Regions from separate parts of the Homo sapiens genome. Here all the other regions are linked to region 5. The links are contacts of gene promoters, found by promoter capture Hi-C in blood cells and fetal thymus (Javierre and others, 2016). All regions are on one chromosome and are shown on one strand. The core of a region is centred on a gene start or on the middle of the fragment in contact, and the rest is flanking DNA. Distances in the headings are between cores, read along the strand shown. Region 1 overlaps OCRL (OCRL inositol polyphosphate-5-phosphatase). Region 2 has its middle 12 kb from the start of ENOX2. Region 3 holds the start of OCRL (OCRL inositol polyphosphate-5-phosphatase). Region 4 overlaps OCRL (OCRL inositol polyphosphate-5-phosphatase). Region 5 holds the start of ELF4 (E74 like ETS transcription factor 4). Region 6 has its middle 57 kb from the start of APLN.

Region 1 (2,700 bases), core at 201-2,700, 550 kb before region 5:
ATCGGGAACCCCCACCTCCACCCTTTTCAGTGAATAAAATGTAAGTCCCATGTGAAAACATATTTGCCTTGTAGGAGAATTATAGTTTAAACAATTTTACTTTTGAATCTCTCATTTATTTGCTAGGCTTCCACGTGAAAAAGAAGCTTCTAACAAGGAGCAGCCCAAAGTGACCAACACCATGCGGAAGCTCTTTGTACCAAATACCCAATCTGGGCAGCGGGAGGGTCTCATCAAACATATCCTGGCAAAGCGAGAGAAAGAATATGTCAACATTCAGACTTTCAGGTTAGTGTCTCTTTTGCTTCCTGAGTCTAAAAAGTTAGTATATATAACAGACAGTGGCCTGTTGATATTTAAGACATTAGCCTAATTAAGAATCAAAATATGATAAAAAGGAATGGTTGCCTGTTTCAAGCTCCTGTCTCTATGCTGGCCAATAACATGCATATCAGAAATAATGCAGATGCTACAGTTTCCCTTGGATTTTCTTTTTTTGTGTGTGTGGGTCAGGGTCTCTCTTTGTCACCCAGGCTGGAGAGCAGATAGATCATGGCTTACTGTAGCCTCAACCTCTCAGTCGTAAGCAATCCTCCCACGCCAGCCCTGCAAGTAGGTGGAACTACAGGTGCACACCACCACATCCAGCTAATATTTGTGTTTTTTATAGAGACTGGGTTTCACCAGGTTGCCCAGGCTGGTCTCAAATTCCTGAGCTCAGGCAATCCACCCGCCTTGGCCTCACAAAGTGTTAGGATTACAGGCTTGAGCCACCGTGCTTGGCCTTCCCTTGGATTTTCTAACTACTAATAATGCCATGTCTACTAATGTCTCTACTGAGTCCTAGAGAACCAAATCAAGGTCACATGTACTAGAGAATTTTCCCCTAGCACATTCCATAAGCAAGCGTGTTTATATATCTGGCCTGTTAAGTTTTTTTTTTTCAGCCAATATTAGAAAATTAAAGTCCATCATTACCACTAGCTCTTAACTTACTTACTTTGGTAAATAAAGAAAGTTTCACCCAGTCCTCTTGATTGGGAGGTCTATCTTGGGTTCTTTTATCTGTATTATTTTTTATTTCATCTTTTTTCTGGACTTGTGTGTGTATGCTGCATGTGAGGTACCATGTGGCATGTATCGCCAATGCATGAAGCAACACCACATTTCTTTGTTATTCATGAGCAGAATGTACCCTTCTAGTCCAAGATTCTAGTCCCATCTGCTATCCTGTCATACCTCATTTATTCTAATTCAGTCATAACTATATCCCTATGCTAAAACTTGCAGTTCCTCATATCCCCCACTATGCTTATATTTGTGTGTAAACAGTTAAGACAGTCATGAGTTTTCCCTTCTGCTTTCCCCCTTAATACTATGTCTGCCTCATCAGAATTTCCTACACAGATGTCCTTGTAATCCTTCAGGAAGTGAGTTCCTGGAGTCAACTATAGCCCCTTATAGAACATTTATCCATATTTGACTAGCTTACAGCATGAAGATACCTCTTTCCCATCCATAAGCTCTCCTATCAAGTATGAGTTTGGATGGAGCTTAATTGAAAGGAAATGTGGTATAGCAATTACCTTTGCATTTTTTAAAAATAAAGACTTGGTTTCCTTCTGTAGTTTTACTTAATGTAAAATTTAGAGAAAATAAGCCCACTGCCTTTGTGTTCTAGATGCAAAAGATCTTTCTTACATATGTGGCAAAACATTTTGAGGAATTATGTTAGCATATTGTGAACATACCTTTGTATGGAAGCGAAAAGAAAGAACTTCTGTTGGTTTATACTTGATCTTTGTTTTCAAATTATCTTTTCGTATTATGTATTAGATTTTTTGTTGGAACTTGGAATGTGAATGGCCAGTCTCCAGATAGCGGGTTAGAACCTTGGCTGAACTGTGATCCCAATCCTCCTGATATCTACTGCATTGGGTAAAGAACACTTCTGGAATTTCCTTTTGGCTATATGTTTGGTGTTCATTTACATGATGTTTTGCCTTTTTTAAAAAAGACTGTTGGTAAAACCTACTGTAGACTATACACGAGAGTTAACTTGCGGGTCAAATTTGTGAGAACAGAAATGAACAGATACCTAAAATGGTGTAAGGAAGCATCTAATTTTCTTGAAACCCGTAGGAATCTATATATTCTGCATAGAAACTAAGACTTGGGGTCAGTTCTAACAGTGACAGTTCCTAGGATATAAGAGCAAAGCTCTGCTGTTATCCTCTGTGGGAGGTATTTTGATTTATTTTTTGCATAGCTTATGAATGTACTTGTGGGAATTCTTTAGAAAAGAAAGCTACTTGTTCTTACTGATAACCTGGGTGAACAGAGCAGTTCTATAAAATTTATCTCTCTCCCATCTTTTTTTCATCTAATGTTTCAACATATGGGACAGGAGGTAGCCAGAGATAATTATGGGATATGTATAGATCTCATATCCCTTTTTTCCTCAGATTCCAAGAACTGGACTTGAGCACAGAAGCCTTCTTCTACTTTGAATCTGTGAAGGAACAAGAATGGTCCATGGCTGTAGAGAGAGGTTTGCATTCCAAAGCCAAGTATAAGAAAGTAAGCCGCATTTAATTATCTTTTTAAGTGTATGACTAAATAGGGCTCACCGGGAGTTATTCCATTATCTACAACTTGTTCCAAAAGAATAGTTTAATTGAATTCTTCTCTGTGTGTAAT
Region 2 (2,700 bases), core at 10-2,509, 800 kb after region 5:
TCCCATACCATATTGACAAACTCTCCAAGGTTCTCCACCTAAAGACCCATTTGTAATCCAGCTGAAAACAGACAGGGGTTGGATGCTAACCTCAAAACCTGATTACTGCTGCTGCTGCTACTACTACTACTACTACTACTACTACTACTACTATTACTTGTACTACTATACTAACATTGAGTACAACTTGCCAACTTCTTGTTCTAGAGCTTAGAATCCAAGCTCTTTCAATATATTGGCTCGTGTAATCGTCATAACAATCTTATGAAATGGATACTATTATAATTACCATCGAAATTTTACAAATGAAAAAAACGGAAGCAAGAGAGATGAAGTCATGTATTCAAATCCATACAGCTAAGAATTAGCCAGGCAAGGATTTTGATGTACCTCGTACTTCCTTTGCATCTTCACTTTATTTTGAAATTGACTTATGGCATAACCTAATGGACTTATAGACAGGGGGAGAAGTATGATGGGCTATGGGTCTGGGGAGCCAATCACCCATCCTCACCTGCCAGGATCCAATGAGGCTAAGGTGTTTTCATACACATTTTTTTCTATGGAGTCTGGAATGTGGAATTCATTATGCAAATTTCTTGATGTGATGATTTGGCTGGAAAAGCAGGTACTATGGAAAAGTTCCCCCACTTATCTCTAAGGACTACTCTGATGTAAAATATTATGTGTTGATGAGTATGTTTTTTATTTGCATGCATGGGCATACATTTACATGCATGATTCTGTGTCAGTCAGCATGTATGTGTTAAGTATAGTACATTGGTTCTCAAGCTTTAGTCTAATCTCAGATACCTGGGTAAAATCACAAATACTCCTGGGTCCTATGCTCAGAGATTCTGATTCAGTTCAGTTGGGGTGGGACACAACAGCTTGTTACTTGCACCTGAAGTGATTCTAATACAGGTGGTCTGTGCAGACTACATTTTAAGAACAATGGGATCATGCTTTAGAGTAGGCTCTGGAGCCAGGCTGCTAGTGAGTGGTTTAATTTTAGGTTTAAGCAAGTCAACTGGGCTCTGTTAATATCAGTTTACTCATTTTTGAAAATGAATAATAATATACCTACTTCATGAGGTTGCTGTGAGGATTAAATGACATACACTTATTTAAAGGGTATCTCATTTGATGTGCCTAACCCATCATAAGTGATCAGTGAATAGTAGCTACACTATTCACATAGACCACAAGGATAATGGCAAACATAATGGTGCTCCCCATTCCTACCCCCGTCCCAGAATTATGCAGTGCAGATGCCCTGAGGGCATGCTAGGGAATAGTGAAGTGGTGTGAAGAGGCCAACTCCTGAGGGGCTGCAAGGACCAGGAATTTTGGTTGTAACCCACAGCCTCACTCCTTGAAAAGGATTTAAAGAACATAGAAAGCAAAATGGTGAAAGGGTTTGCAGATGGTAGGTTTGGGAGTGCTCAGCCCACTTCAGGTCTTTAGGGCAACTGGTCCTGCACCACTGTGTTCACAATCTGGCCCCCAGCTGGCATTTAGGACTGGAAGAACAATGGACCCTGTATTCAGGGAAAACTTGAGGCGGAGTGCTGCTCATTGGTCTTCTACCATTAAGATGCTATATAAAGAGAAATACTAATCAAGTAGAAATCATGGTGCCTGACCTCAAGGAGCCTAGAGTCTTTGGAAGAAACAAACATGCCAGCATTGTTACTTTAAGCAATTCCCATCCACTCTCTGGGTTGAAGCTTTGTCTGTAAAATGATGGTTTGTACTTAAAACTTTGAACATGTTACATTTCTCATCCTTCTAGAAATAAACAAGCATTAAGTCACAGAAAGGAGTGCATGATGATGACACAGTGTGGTAGAGTGAGGCAATATCACTCCAGCCAGCTTGCAAAGCTGCTGTAGAGTGCAATGGCTAGAGCTACTGCCAGGAAGGAAGAGGGGTAATGGGATTGGGTCAAAGGCCTTAGCTCTCTTGTTGGTGCCAAAAATTGCTCACTTTGATACCTACCTTGAGCCAGATATACAACAGATATGCCACATGTTGGCTCTTGCTGATACTCCTCTAGCCCCCTTGCTGCTCACTGATTTTAGCTGAAAGTGGGGATTAATTGACAAGGACATCTTGGAGGAGGATGTCACAGATCCTGTAGTGTGCCAGAATGAATTCAGGATTAAGTAGGAAACTGGAGACTGAAGTGACTGAGAGCCAGGACAGGGTTAGCCTCCTAAAACACCCTGTCTGGAGGGCTTCACTGTGGCTAAGGGCTGCTAATATGAGAAGTGTATACTACAGCTATAAAATTAAAGATAGCACTTACTACATGCTAGGTGCTGTTCCAAGCGCTTTACAAGGAATAACTCTTTTTTGCCTTATTATAACCTTATTATGATAGCAATTATTATTATTTTCTTTTAAAGTTGTGGAAACTGAAGCGTATTAAGCACTCTCCAGCCACCAATTTTTCTCAGAGGTTTTTGTTTTGTTTGTTTGTTTGTTTGAGACAGAGTCTCACTCTGTTGCCCAGGCTGGTGTGCAGTGGCGCGATCTCAGCTCACTGTAACCTCTGCCTCCAGGGTTCAAGCAATTCTCCTGCCTCACCCTCTCGCGTAGCTGGGATTACAGGCGCCTGCCACGAGATGCCTATTTTTAGTAGAGACGAGGTTTCACCACGTTGGCCAGGCTGGTCTCGAACTCCTGACCTCAGGT
Region 3 (2,700 bases), core at 82-2,581, 570 kb before region 5:
TTCCCAGGCTGGTCTTGAACTCCTGGGCTCAAGTGATCCTACCACCTCGGCCTCCCAAAGTGCTGGGATTACAGGCATGAGCCACTGTGCAGGCCAGTTTGTCTTTTAACTTGTTTATATTGTCTTAAAGTACATACATTTTGAAATTTCATGTAGCTAAATGTCTTATTCTCATTCCATATTCCAAGCTCATACTCAATTTTTTTTTCTGAAAGTTATAAAGTTTTGCTTTTCACATTTAGATCTTTAATCCACCTGGAACTGATTTTTCTTCCATGGTTTGAGGTAGGGGTCTAATTTTTATAATTTTCCATATGGATAAGCAGTAGTCCTAGTACCACTTAGTGGATAATCCATTCTTTCCCCACTGATTTGAAATGTCCCACACGCTGCATATCAACCTTCCGTATATGTGTGGTCTGTTTGAGGGGTTTATATTGTGTTTCATTGATTGTCTATCTCCACAGCATACTTTTAATTACTACAGATTTACAGTCACTCTTGATATCTAGTGTATTATAGATTCTGGAGCAAATGAATAACACGATCGAAAAATTACTTTGGGAAAAATATTTTTATGGCTGTCAACAGAGTAAACATGTCAAAGGAAAGAGTAAACCCAACAGGATTTATTTAAAGAAAAGTGCAATAACCCAGATAGGCTATCACAAGGGCTTACAATAAAGTTATGGCAGTGTGAATGGAGAGAAAATAAGGAATCTAAAAGTAATTCCACGTAAAATATTAACAGGGTGTGTTGACTGATTGGATATAGAGATGAGGAGGGGGAAGACGATATATGGCTTTCCAGTGAAATGATAATGAGTTAGTTTTGTGACGCAGTGATGTGTTAACAATGGACTCTATTAGGTAAGAGGTCTGGGCCAGGGATATATATTTGGACATTGTCTAGTTAGAGGTGAACTGGAGGGGACGCAGAGGAGGAGCAAAGGTCTGGGCTTTGGGGAATTCTCCGATTTAGGGCGTGGAAGAAAGAAGAGGAAAGGAAATGGTAGGATAACCAACACGGGACATTATAACCTTAAGAAATATATATATATATATATATGTATTTTTTTACTGAATGATGTGGGTCGTATTGACACAACAGGTTTGAGATCTCCCATAGGTATGACTGTGTTTTGTTTCTGTGGCCTTCAAAGTCCTCAGAACAATTTTGATGTCACAGGTGGCATTTAAAACCCATTCCTTGCTGGACCTGGTAGAGACGCCCCCAGTCCGTCAGGTCTCTCGCTGCAGTTCCGCAGTTTGACCGCAGGGGACGGAATCTGCGGCGGCCTGGAAAACTGGCGGGGGCGCGAGGCGCCGCTCTCTCTTGGGTCAGATTCTCAGCTCCCAGCTCCCCGCTCCCGGCTCCCGGCGCCCGGCGCCCGGCGCGGAGCTGTTCCTCAAACGACACGCAGCCGAGGTGGGTGGGTGTGGGGACGCGGGAGCCAGTGTCGTCGGATCGGCCCGCAGTCCGCTGTCCTGCTGAGCCCGGAGGCCGCCTGGATGGAGCCGCCGCTCCCGGTCGGAGCCCAGCCGCTTGCCGTATCCGCCGGAGAGAAGGGAGAGGGGAGGCCGCGCAGGGCCGGGGGTGGGGGTCGGGGGCCCTGCGGAACACGGTGGGGCGGGGCAACCGGGTGGCCCAGAGGCCGAGCAGAGAGGGGGAGGGGGCCGGCGCGGGAGACGAAGCAGGGCGGGGCGGGGCGGGGGAGGGCGGCGGTGGGGGGGGGGTGGAAGACCCCCTTCGCCCCGCAGTGCACCACTCCTCCCCACCGCGCTTCCGAAGGAGACCCTTGACTAGCGCCCGCATACTGTCGAGGGTATGGAGATGAAGGGTCCTCTCCGGGAGCCCTGCGCCCTGACCCTAGCCCAGAGGAACGGGCAATATGAGTAAGTAACCACCTGATTCCCACAGAGGAGGGGAGCCTGCCATTACCTCCCAACCCCAAACCGCGACGGGTCACCCACTGTCCTCCTACTGAAGCCACGCGGGCAACAGGTTCAGGTCCAGGTGTGAAGTGCCAGTGCTCTCTAACCTCGGGGCTTTGTCCCCAACTTCCAAGCCTCTGGATTGTGCTTGGCAGTGTGGCTCAGTGGAAGGACTGAATGGGCGGGGAAGCAGGAAGCCTGGGTTCTTAGTTCCTGCCCCTGCAACTGACATGTGTTGTGTAACGTTGGGCAAGTCAATAAAGCTTTCTGGGCCAAAGTTAACTCTTCAGTTTAATAAAACCATTAACTGCCTTACCTTACAGCCTTTGGAATTATAACTGGGGGAAAAATAAATGCGAGAGTGGCTTCCAAAAAGTAAAAGTGCTATGGAAATGCTTCATTGTTAACGTTACAGACTTGTCTTAACCCTATTCAGCTGGTTTCTCCAGTCTCCCCGTCCCCTTATCCCACTGGGTTGAAGGCATATTCATTAATTCAGTAATGGTTTAGTGTAGGCCAGAAACTGCCTCACTTACTGACTTTACTGTTAGAAAGAAAAGGTAATGAAATGTGTAGAGATAGAAATGACAGTATTTTATCAGTGTGTCACCTTCCTCTCTGCCATAGGAGCTCCGTAAATACTGTTGACTGATTGATCAAAAGATTATTTTGATAAGCTATCACCATAGCTGCTAACCTCACTCTATTGTCACTAATATCTTATCTCAAAAATATCCATGGTGACCATTACGTATCATAGGCCCC
Region 4 (2,700 bases), core at 116-2,615, 530 kb before region 5:
ATATGTCACTTCACCACTGAACACTTCAGCCTGCATCTCTTAACAAAAAGGGCACACTTAAGCACAATACCATTATTATGTATAAGAAAACTAACAGTAATCCATAGTATCATTTAACATTCGGTCCATATTCAGATTTCTTCAGTTGTCCCAAGAATTTCTGTTATACCTTTTTTTAAACCAAAATCCAATCTGGGTTCATATAGTATTTGGTGAGGTCTCTGAAGTCTCTATTGGAGTAGTACAGTTCCTACTTTCTTTAGTGACATTGACTTTTTTAAGAGTCCAGTACAAATGTCCAGTCAAGGGTCAACCATTTCCTAAATTTTTCTGGTTGTTTCCTTCTTGTTTTTTTTTTTTTTAAACTTATCCCATTTATACTCTCTCCTTCCACCTTCATGTAAACAGGAACCTACCCTTATTTTTAGTCAGAGTCAGTGAAGATATTAGAATATCTTTGCCATTAATATGAAAAACTGCAAAGCCATTAATATGAAAAACTTTGCAGTTTTTCATATTCTGGGATTGGCCAGAAGAGGCTCAACCCTCATAAAGTTTTTATTTTATGTAAAGTATACTATCAGGTAATTTTACCATGTTTGCCCATGAACAGAAAGGAACCAAAATCATTAGAGGAATGAATGGCTCTTTGGGAAGCCTTTTTCCTTCTTTTTGTGCACAAGTGATTGAGGGTTAAAATAATAGAACCCTGATCATTTTTAATTACAGAATTTCTGAGTTTTTATTAAATTGTATGTGTGTGGACATCATTTTTCTTTTAAAGCTTTTATTTTGTAGGATTTAGGGTTCTTTTCACAGTCTGTTGCATTTCAGTGTTATTAAATTCCTGTATCTCATTGATGAGGAAATTATCTATACAGGTTGATTATCCATTATCCAAAATGCTTGGGACCAAAAGTGTTTCAGATTTCAATCTTTTTCAGATTTTCAAATATATGCATTATATACTTACCAGTTCAGCTTCCCTAATCTGGAAATCGGAAATCTGAAATGCTTCAATGAGCATTTCCTTTGATCATCATGACAGTACTCAAAAAGTTTCGAGTTTTGGAGCATTTTGGATTTCTGGATTGGGAATACTCAACCTGCATTACTGTGGAGCAGTAAACAAGAAATCTAAAAACAATTAGTATCCCATCTTTAATACCTTCTCACTCTGTTGTGACTTGATTTTGACCTTCTGAAATGATTCCTCAGGTATAGTATTCATGTTTTTTTTCCCCAAGACCCAATATCGTATTTCAAATCTCATGAGATGATGCTGTTAATAATGGTACCTGCCCTCTGTTGTATTATTTGCTCTAAAATTTTGGTAAAGCCAGAAACGAGTTCAATGTATGTGTTGTCTCTCTATGTACTGTTTTAGAAAGATCCTTATGCACTGTTTTAGAAAGATCCTTATGCCACACCATCTTCCCACCAAATGCAGAATGAAATAACTGACATAATTATTTTTCATCCTTCCAGCCCTTTTCATAATAGTGACTTTGCCACTCCTAGAATAGTTGAGATTAGCACAAGTGGGAAACGGATGAAAATCTACCATTTGTAATCATCTTTATTGTTTTTCAGAATTAAGATAGATTTTTCTGTTATATTAACTAGAATATTAAGTAGCAAATAATCCTCAATATTGATTCATTACACACTGGATACAAAGTATTATGGAGTTTATGTGAGTTCCCATAATTTAGTGGTGATGAAAGTATATTTGCACATAAAATATGGCTAAACTTTAAGTCATGGTTAATAGGGAGTTTGGTTAAAGATAATCTGAACATTAACCACCTTTACTGGCTAATGTCTGGTGTGCTTGGTAAGTCAGTATTTTGGAAAGTCGTTTAAAGTGACTGCTATGAAGGTTGTAGTTTGTATTAACAATAGGTTCCTTTCCTATGTTGTTTATTCAAGCCCTTATATGCTATAAAAGCTTATTGACTGACCAGCTAATCCCTATAGAAATCAGAATCAGCCTGTTTTCATTTTAATGAATATTTGATACATGTAACATTAACATGACTGAGAAATAAGTTTAGCACATAAGAATAAAGTGAACTAGGAAGGTGATTTGGAGTTAGTTATAGAAGTATTTTCAGTCAAGTCCAAGTACTTAAGAAACACTTATTAATATAGTGGGTGAGCAGGCTCTTCCAGGCTTAGAGGACATCTTGAATAAAGGGTAGAAGGTGAAAGTGAAAAGACCATGTATGAAAAACTGTAAGATTTCCCTGGGACAAGTGAAGATCAAGGATAAGAATGTATGAAGCTGGTTAGGGAGAATGGGGCAGGTGGTAGAGAGTCTTGAAGTCAATAGATAAGTTTATGCATGAGCCAGAGGGTATCTAGAACCATCAGAAGGGTTTGCTGATTAGTATGAGGTTGCAAATTGATATAGTTGGAAGAACATTCTGGTGTTACTTGTAGAATGGACTAATTGAAAGGAGACAAGACTTGAACTTGCCAGATGTGGCTAAGTTGTAAATACGGAGATGAAAAAAGTTGAGGGATGGGTAGAGAAACTATATTTGCTTGGGGACATATCTGTTGGGAGAACAATATCAAAAGTTTGAAATAACAGGAATAACTTGTTAATTTGTCCGTAGTGTTTTTTTCACTATGTTTTTACTTTGTCTTACTAATCTAACCATCCATTTCTTACTCTGTTAAGTATATGGCTTG
Region 5 (2,700 bases), core at 70-2,569:
GCTGGCAGGGGGTGAGTCCCCAATGGGCGTGCCCACCAGCTGTTGGGGCTGAGCAGTGGTGGTTCAGGCCCTGGGGTGGTGACCTCACTTCCGCTCCTACCTCCCCACCTCCCCAGCACTCCTCCCATTTGAGGCCCCACCAGGCCAAAATCGAGAAGTCCAAGGTTAACTGTTCTTTCCCACTTTAAGAGCTAATTAAAATAATTAGCCACAATGAACTGTCAAACATTAACCAGAAGAGGCTGCAGGACCAGACAGGCCTCTATCACAGGCCGAGGGATGAGGGGCAGGAATCAAATGGCCATCAAATCCCTCAGCTGGGGTATGGTGCGGGGCGGGGGCGGCCCAGGAGGACCTCGCTGAGCCGAGGTGCCAAGGGGTCAGGAGGTGACTCTGGTCAGGAAGGTGATGTGCAGGCATACGGTGGTGAGAAAAGGGAGTCAGGGTTAGGGTGCGGTGGAGGAGCCAGGAATTCATAAAGCGGTCACCGCCTCAGCAGTCCCTCAAGCCTCCAAAGCAAGGCGCTGGCGTGAGGGGACCCCGCACGGTGCGGCTGCTGAATCCCCTAGGCGGCGGCCCAGGAGGGAACCCGGAGGCGGGAGAGTCGGGGAGAGCGGGAACGCGGGAGCGGGAAGGCTGGCGGCTGGCTCACACGGAAACTCCGGCCCCTGCCAAGAGGTCTCTATTTTGGCGATCCAGTTCTCCACATCATAGGTCTGCGTGCGCGTGTGTGCGTGTGACCCTAAAGCCCTGGCCCCAGAAGCCCCGGGGGCAGTCGGATCCATCTAGCAGCTCCGCCGCGGTCCGCCCCACCTCCTCTGCCCTCGGGCGCCCAGCTTCTGGGGGCCCGCTGTCATGATCGGCCCCGTCACGGAACCCAGGCTGCCGGGGGCGAGGGAAAACAGGGGCCCCTACCCCGACTCCCCGACTCGGGGAATCCATTCCACTTCCATCCCGGGATCGGGAGCCCGGGTTCTCCATCACACGCGCGGCGGGGCGACTCCAGGGCGGCTCGCGACACTCCGCGACTCTCCCGCCCTTCCCTGGGCCCCCAGCCCCACGCCGGGGCCCCGGCGCTCTCGATTCCGCCCTCAAGCAAACTTTTCCACGTCCCCCAAGGCTCGAAGAACCGGCGCCATCGACGTACCTGAGGCCGAGTGGCTCACGGGCCCAGCTCGGTCGCCGGGCCGGGGTCTGTCTCCGTGGTCCCCGCTCCGGGGGCCGAGACGCGGGTCCCCAGCCCCGCCAGCCCGTCCTCTCCCCTCGGAAGCCGGGCCGGGCGAGCGGCGCCAGGAACTCGGCGCCGGCGAAAGGAGAAGTGGAAGTTGAGCGCGGCGCCCGGTCGGTCCCCGCGGCCGCCGGGGCCGCCGTCCCCCGCCCTCCTCCCCGCCCGCCCTTCTTCCCCGCCCGCCTGCCCCCGCCACCCCGCGCCCGTGACTCACCTCGGCGCCGGGGCAGGCTGGTCCGGGCGGGCGAGGCGCAGGGCTCTCCCACACTTCGCGCCGCCAATGGCAAGTTGGAGGGAGAGATGCAAATACCAGGTGAGACGGCGGCGCCCCTGATAAAACGGGGCGGGGGGCGGGGTGGAGCGCGCGGGGAGCGGGGCGGACGCCGGGGAGGGCCGGGCCAAGACACGGGGCGGCAGGGGCGCCCGGGGAGGGGGCGCGAACCGGCGCAGACATGCACCGAAACGAGCGAGCGAAAGGGGAAATGCAGTAGAGACACACACGTCCCCGCAGGCGGCGGATGGGGCGGGCGCGAAGGAGGCAGGGCGGGAGGGAGGGAAGAGCCGGAGGGAGGGACCGACGGGAGGGACTGCGGGCGGGCGGGGTGGGGGAGGGAACGAGGGAGGGACGAGGCATCTCGGTGGAAACAGCGCCCGTCCGCCCCGGCCCGCCCGCCGCGGTCGCCAGCACGGCATGGGGAGCCGTGCCAGGGGCCCGCGCGGCCTCTCATTCCCCTCGCGGCTCGCTCGCGCCCGGGGGACCACGAGGCAGGGCGCCCGCAGAGCCCGCGTCGTGCGCCGCGGCCCGGGCGGGCGCTCCCCACTCTGCTTCTAGCCAGCGAGACTCCGAGCTCTCTGCTCGTTCCGCGCCCTTCCCGGTGCGAAGCCCCCATACAACGCCCCGCAGAGAAATCCCTTCCCCGCGGACTCGGGAAGGTTTCGTCCAGCCCCCTCGGCCCGTGCAAGTGGAGACTTGCTTGACGCCTTTGGGCCAAGCCCTGCGCTCCACATTATTGAGCTCCTGGGGTGTGCAGGCCCCAGCGGGAGGGCGGGCCGTGCGGCGGGTGAGGCCGCGAGATGCCCAGAGGATACAATTTTGGAACCATATGCCCGACTCCGCAGAATCCTGGGCGTAACACCTGGGGTGACTGGAGAGTTTCGGCGACTTCTTAGGGAAGTCGAGTCTAGGACTCCTGCGGGAAGTTGGGGTGGGGGACGCTGGCAAGATATGAGTCAGGGGAAGGGCTAGGGGGAGAGGGGCTGGCCCAGCAAGTGCAAAGAGAGCCAGAGTTCGGGTGCTGGAAGAAAGCCCATGCCTACCTTTCTTCCCCTGTCCAAAGCCAGGCTGCTCTGCTCCACGCGCCCACTTGAAAGCCACTCAGGCACGCTCCCCTTCTATCTCCCCTTTGCCCTCTCTGACCTGCCTCAACATCAATACCGCCGCCTACGTGGGTCTGCTGATAGGAGGCTCTGGA
Region 6 (2,700 bases), core at 131-2,630, 510 kb before region 5:
GGCTGGCTTTACTCAGGGAAGTGACGTGATGTGACTTCTGTATGCTCCTTCTCCTAACCTTAGGAAGAGTAATAACTAATAACTCTAGCTGTCATTTATCCCAGATACTAATACATTTAACATCACTTTTGCCTTTACGATAGCCTGATAAAGTACTACATTATCCCACTTTTTTTTTTTTTTTTTAAGACGGAGTCTAGCTCTGTCACCCAGGCTGGAGTGCGGTAGCATAATCTCGGCTCACTGCAACCTCCACCTCCCGTGTTCAAGCTATTCTCCTGCCTCAGCCTCCCGAGTAGCTGGGATTACAGGCACGTGCCACCACGCCTGGCTAAGTTTTGTATTTTTAGTAGTGACAGGGTTTCACCATCTTGGCCAGGCTGGTCTGAAACTCCTGACCTCGTGATCCACCCGCCTTGGCCTCCCAAAGTGCTGGGATTACAGGTGTGAGCCACCATGCCCGGCCATTAGCCCACTTTTATAGGTGAGAAAACTGAGGCTCAGAGAGACAGCATAACTTGGTACTCGGCTAGTGGCTGACCAGAAAATGACTTCTGAGCCCAAAATTTGTGCTCTTAAACACAGCCATTGTCTCCCCAGCTGGAGTGGGCATGAAGGTGAGGGTGCTTCTTAAAACCCCTATCCCTTCTAGCTACATCCCAAGATTTCATGTCAGCTAGATTGCCTGCTGGCAGGTCAAATTCAACTTCTCTTTGACCTTGACCAGCTTCTCCTGGCATCCTCCTCTCTCCCATCACCCAGGCCTAAGCTTTTGGTTATTTTTGGCCCCTGCCCCACTTTCTAATCAGTTACCAATTGCAATTCAACAAATATTTATCCAGCACCTGCCAAGTGCAGGCTACCATGCAGGGTTCTGAAGGAAACCAAAATGGGTGAGACTGGTCGTTACAAGACAAGACAGACATAATATTTTTGTTTGTTTTGTTTTATTTGACACGGAGTCTCACTCTGTTGCCCAGGCTGGAGTGCAGTGGCGCGATCTTGGCTCACTGCAACCTGCACCTCCTGTGTTCAAGCGATTCTCCTGTCTCAGCCTCCCTAGTAGCTGGGACTACAGGCGCGTGCCACCACACCCAGCTAATTTATTTGTATTTTTATTTTTAGTAGAGACGGGCTTTCACCATGTTGGCCAGGCTGGTCTTGAACTCCTGATCTCAGGTGATCAGCCTGCCTTGGCCTCCCAAAGTGTTGGGATTACAGGTGTGAGCCACTGCACCTGGCCAATATTTTTTTAAAAGAAGGAAAAAAAGGAAAGATGGATGAAAGAAGGGCAGGAAGGAAGAAAAGAGGGAGGAAGATGAGAAAAAGGGAAGAAAGCAAGAAAGAAGAAGGAGGGAGGAAGGAAGGACCTCCACGGAAAAGGGGCCGAGATCAGCTCAACCGCAGTCTCTAGCTGGCCCCTCCTTTCCACTGCGCATTTCCCAGCCCCTCCAACTCCTGCCCCACCCCCCCACCAATAAAATTCAAACACTCATTGCCTCATGTAAGGAGTTAAATCGCCTGATGTATTTAACTCCTTTCTAACTAATTTCTCAGTTGCCAGTTTCTCTCCCTGTACACATCACTGCACTGTTTTGATGTCTCTCCCCTATTCCAGACCCCTGCTGGCCCCCCAGCCCACTTGCCACAGAAGTTCCAATCCTTCTGCCTGGCATGCAAAGCTCTCCTTAGTCTCTTCCACCCACCTCTCAGGCTGAGTCTCCCACTCGACCTTCTCATGCCGTTCCCTTCCCTAAACTCATGCGCACTCTCTGCTTTGGCTCGGTGGTCTGTACCAGCCACCTGGAACCCTCCAGCCCCCACCTCTCCACCTGCCCAAACCCCATCAAACCCAAATGTCACCTCTTCCAGGAAGCCTTTTCCCACAACCCCTGCCCACCACCCCCCTCCCCCGAACTCCTAGAACCTGCCCTCTGTACCACTATTTTAACACACTACATACCAAAGGATGTTGTTGCCCCTTTGGGACTGGAAGCTTCAGGAGAGTGGGAACCAAGCTGGGCGTATTTTAGTTTCCCCACAATGCCTTGCAGAGAGTAAGTGTTCAATGATGTTTGGCTAATAAATAAAGATTGTCTGTTAAAGCATAAGTGTATCCAATAAGTGTTCCTGAAATGTATATACATTTAATTATTCATTCTGAGCTCTATTAACTTTAGAGGAGTTCATGTGGTAGGGGGGGACTTACTGAATTATATTAATGTAATCCAAGAAGATAATAGTTTTTAGCAACCACACAGTACTGTTATTTTCTATTGTTTTGTAGGCAACAAAATCAGCCTTGTTAAATTTGCTTTTTAAAATTGATTCTCAAAGTTTATTAAAAAATTAGAACTAGAACTACCATATGGTTCAGCAATCCCACTTCTAGAGATATATCCAAAAGAATTGAAAGCAGGGTCTCAAAGCTATATTTGCACACCCATGTTCCTAGCAGCATTATTCACAATAGCCAAAAGATGGAAGCACCCCAAATGTCCATGGATAGAAAAACAAAATGTGTTAGTTCTCTACATACAATGGAATATGATTCAGCCTTAAAAAGGAAGGAATTCTGACACATGCTGCTACATGGATCAACCTTGAGGACATTATGCTAAACGAAATAAGCCAGTCCCAAAAAGCACTGTATGATTCTACTTCTATGAGGTCCCTAGAATAGTCAAATCCATAGAGAAA

Evidence for each region. Contacts are between HindIII fragments. The CHiCAGO score rates a contact against its expected background, and 5 or more counts as called.
Region 1: a contact is called between a fragment that was not itself captured here and the fragment with the promoter of ELF4 in region 5, in 3 of 17 cell types (total B cells, M2 macrophages and naive B cells). The highest score is 7.8, in total B cells.
Region 2: a fragment that was not itself captured here is called in contact with the fragment with the promoter of ELF4 in region 5 in 1 of 17 cell types (fetal thymus); the score reaches 5.0 in fetal thymus.
Region 3: a contact is called between the fragment with the promoter of OCRL here and the fragment with the promoter of ELF4 in region 5, in 3 of 17 cell types (monocytes, activated CD4 T cells and total B cells). The highest score is 7.0, in monocytes.
Region 4: a fragment that was not itself captured here is called in contact with the fragment with the promoter of ELF4 in region 5 in 9 of 17 cell types (M0 macrophages, total B cells, naive B cells and 6 more); the score reaches 12.4 in M0 macrophages.
Region 6: a fragment that was not itself captured here is called in contact with the fragment with the promoter of ELF4 in region 5 in 5 of 17 cell types (naive B cells, activated CD4 T cells, non-activated CD4 T cells and 2 more); the score reaches 6.8 in naive B cells.

What each region holds. Positions count from the first base shown.
Region 1 is chrX:129,558,714-129,561,413 of GRCh38, forward strand. OCRL (OCRL inositol polyphosphate-5-phosphatase) reads left to right here. Exons shown (of 24, transcript NM_000276.4): 7 at 1-40; 8 at 127-288; 9 at 1,837-1,938; 10 at 2,466-2,580. Among named protein-coding and RNA genes, the nearest start is that of OCRL, 20 kb to the left of the region's middle. The HindIII fragment of the contact is 2,612 bases long and covers 145-2,700 here.
Region 2 is chrX:130,913,645-130,916,344 of GRCh38, forward strand. No RefSeq gene overlaps it. Among named protein-coding and RNA genes, the nearest start is that of ENOX2, 12 kb to the left of the region's middle. The HindIII fragment of the contact is 938 bases long and covers 791-1,728 here.
Region 3 is chrX:129,538,928-129,541,627 of GRCh38, forward strand. OCRL (OCRL inositol polyphosphate-5-phosphatase) reads left to right here and starts at 1,332. Exons shown (of 24, transcript NM_000276.4): 1 at 1,332-1,551; 2 at 1,817-1,896. The coding sequence starts at 1,513. RefSeq lists an enhancer at 1,165-1,459 and silencers at 1,176-1,235, 1,346-1,545. The HindIII fragment of the contact is 8,325 bases long and covers 1-2,196 here.
Region 4 is chrX:129,578,100-129,580,799 of GRCh38, forward strand. All of the region lies in intron 18 of OCRL (OCRL inositol polyphosphate-5-phosphatase), which reads left to right. Among named protein-coding and RNA genes, the nearest start is that of OCRL, 39 kb to the left of the region's middle. The HindIII fragment of the contact is 1,167 bases long and covers 783-1,949 here.
Region 5 is chrX:130,109,178-130,111,877 of GRCh38, forward strand. It overlaps ELF4 (E74 like ETS transcription factor 4), which reads right to left and starts at 1,320. Exons shown (of 9, transcript NM_001421.4): 1 at 1,148-1,320. It also overlaps a transcript of RAB33A not described here. RefSeq lists silencers at 1,202-1,271, 1,352-1,501, 1,752-1,801, 1,812-1,861, 1,932-2,051. The HindIII fragment of the contact is 7,600 bases long and covers 1-2,700 here.
Region 6 is chrX:129,596,404-129,599,103 of GRCh38, forward strand. No RefSeq gene overlaps it. Among named protein-coding and RNA genes, the nearest start is that of APLN, 57 kb to the right of the region's middle. The HindIII fragment of the contact is 1,227 bases long and covers 768-1,994 here.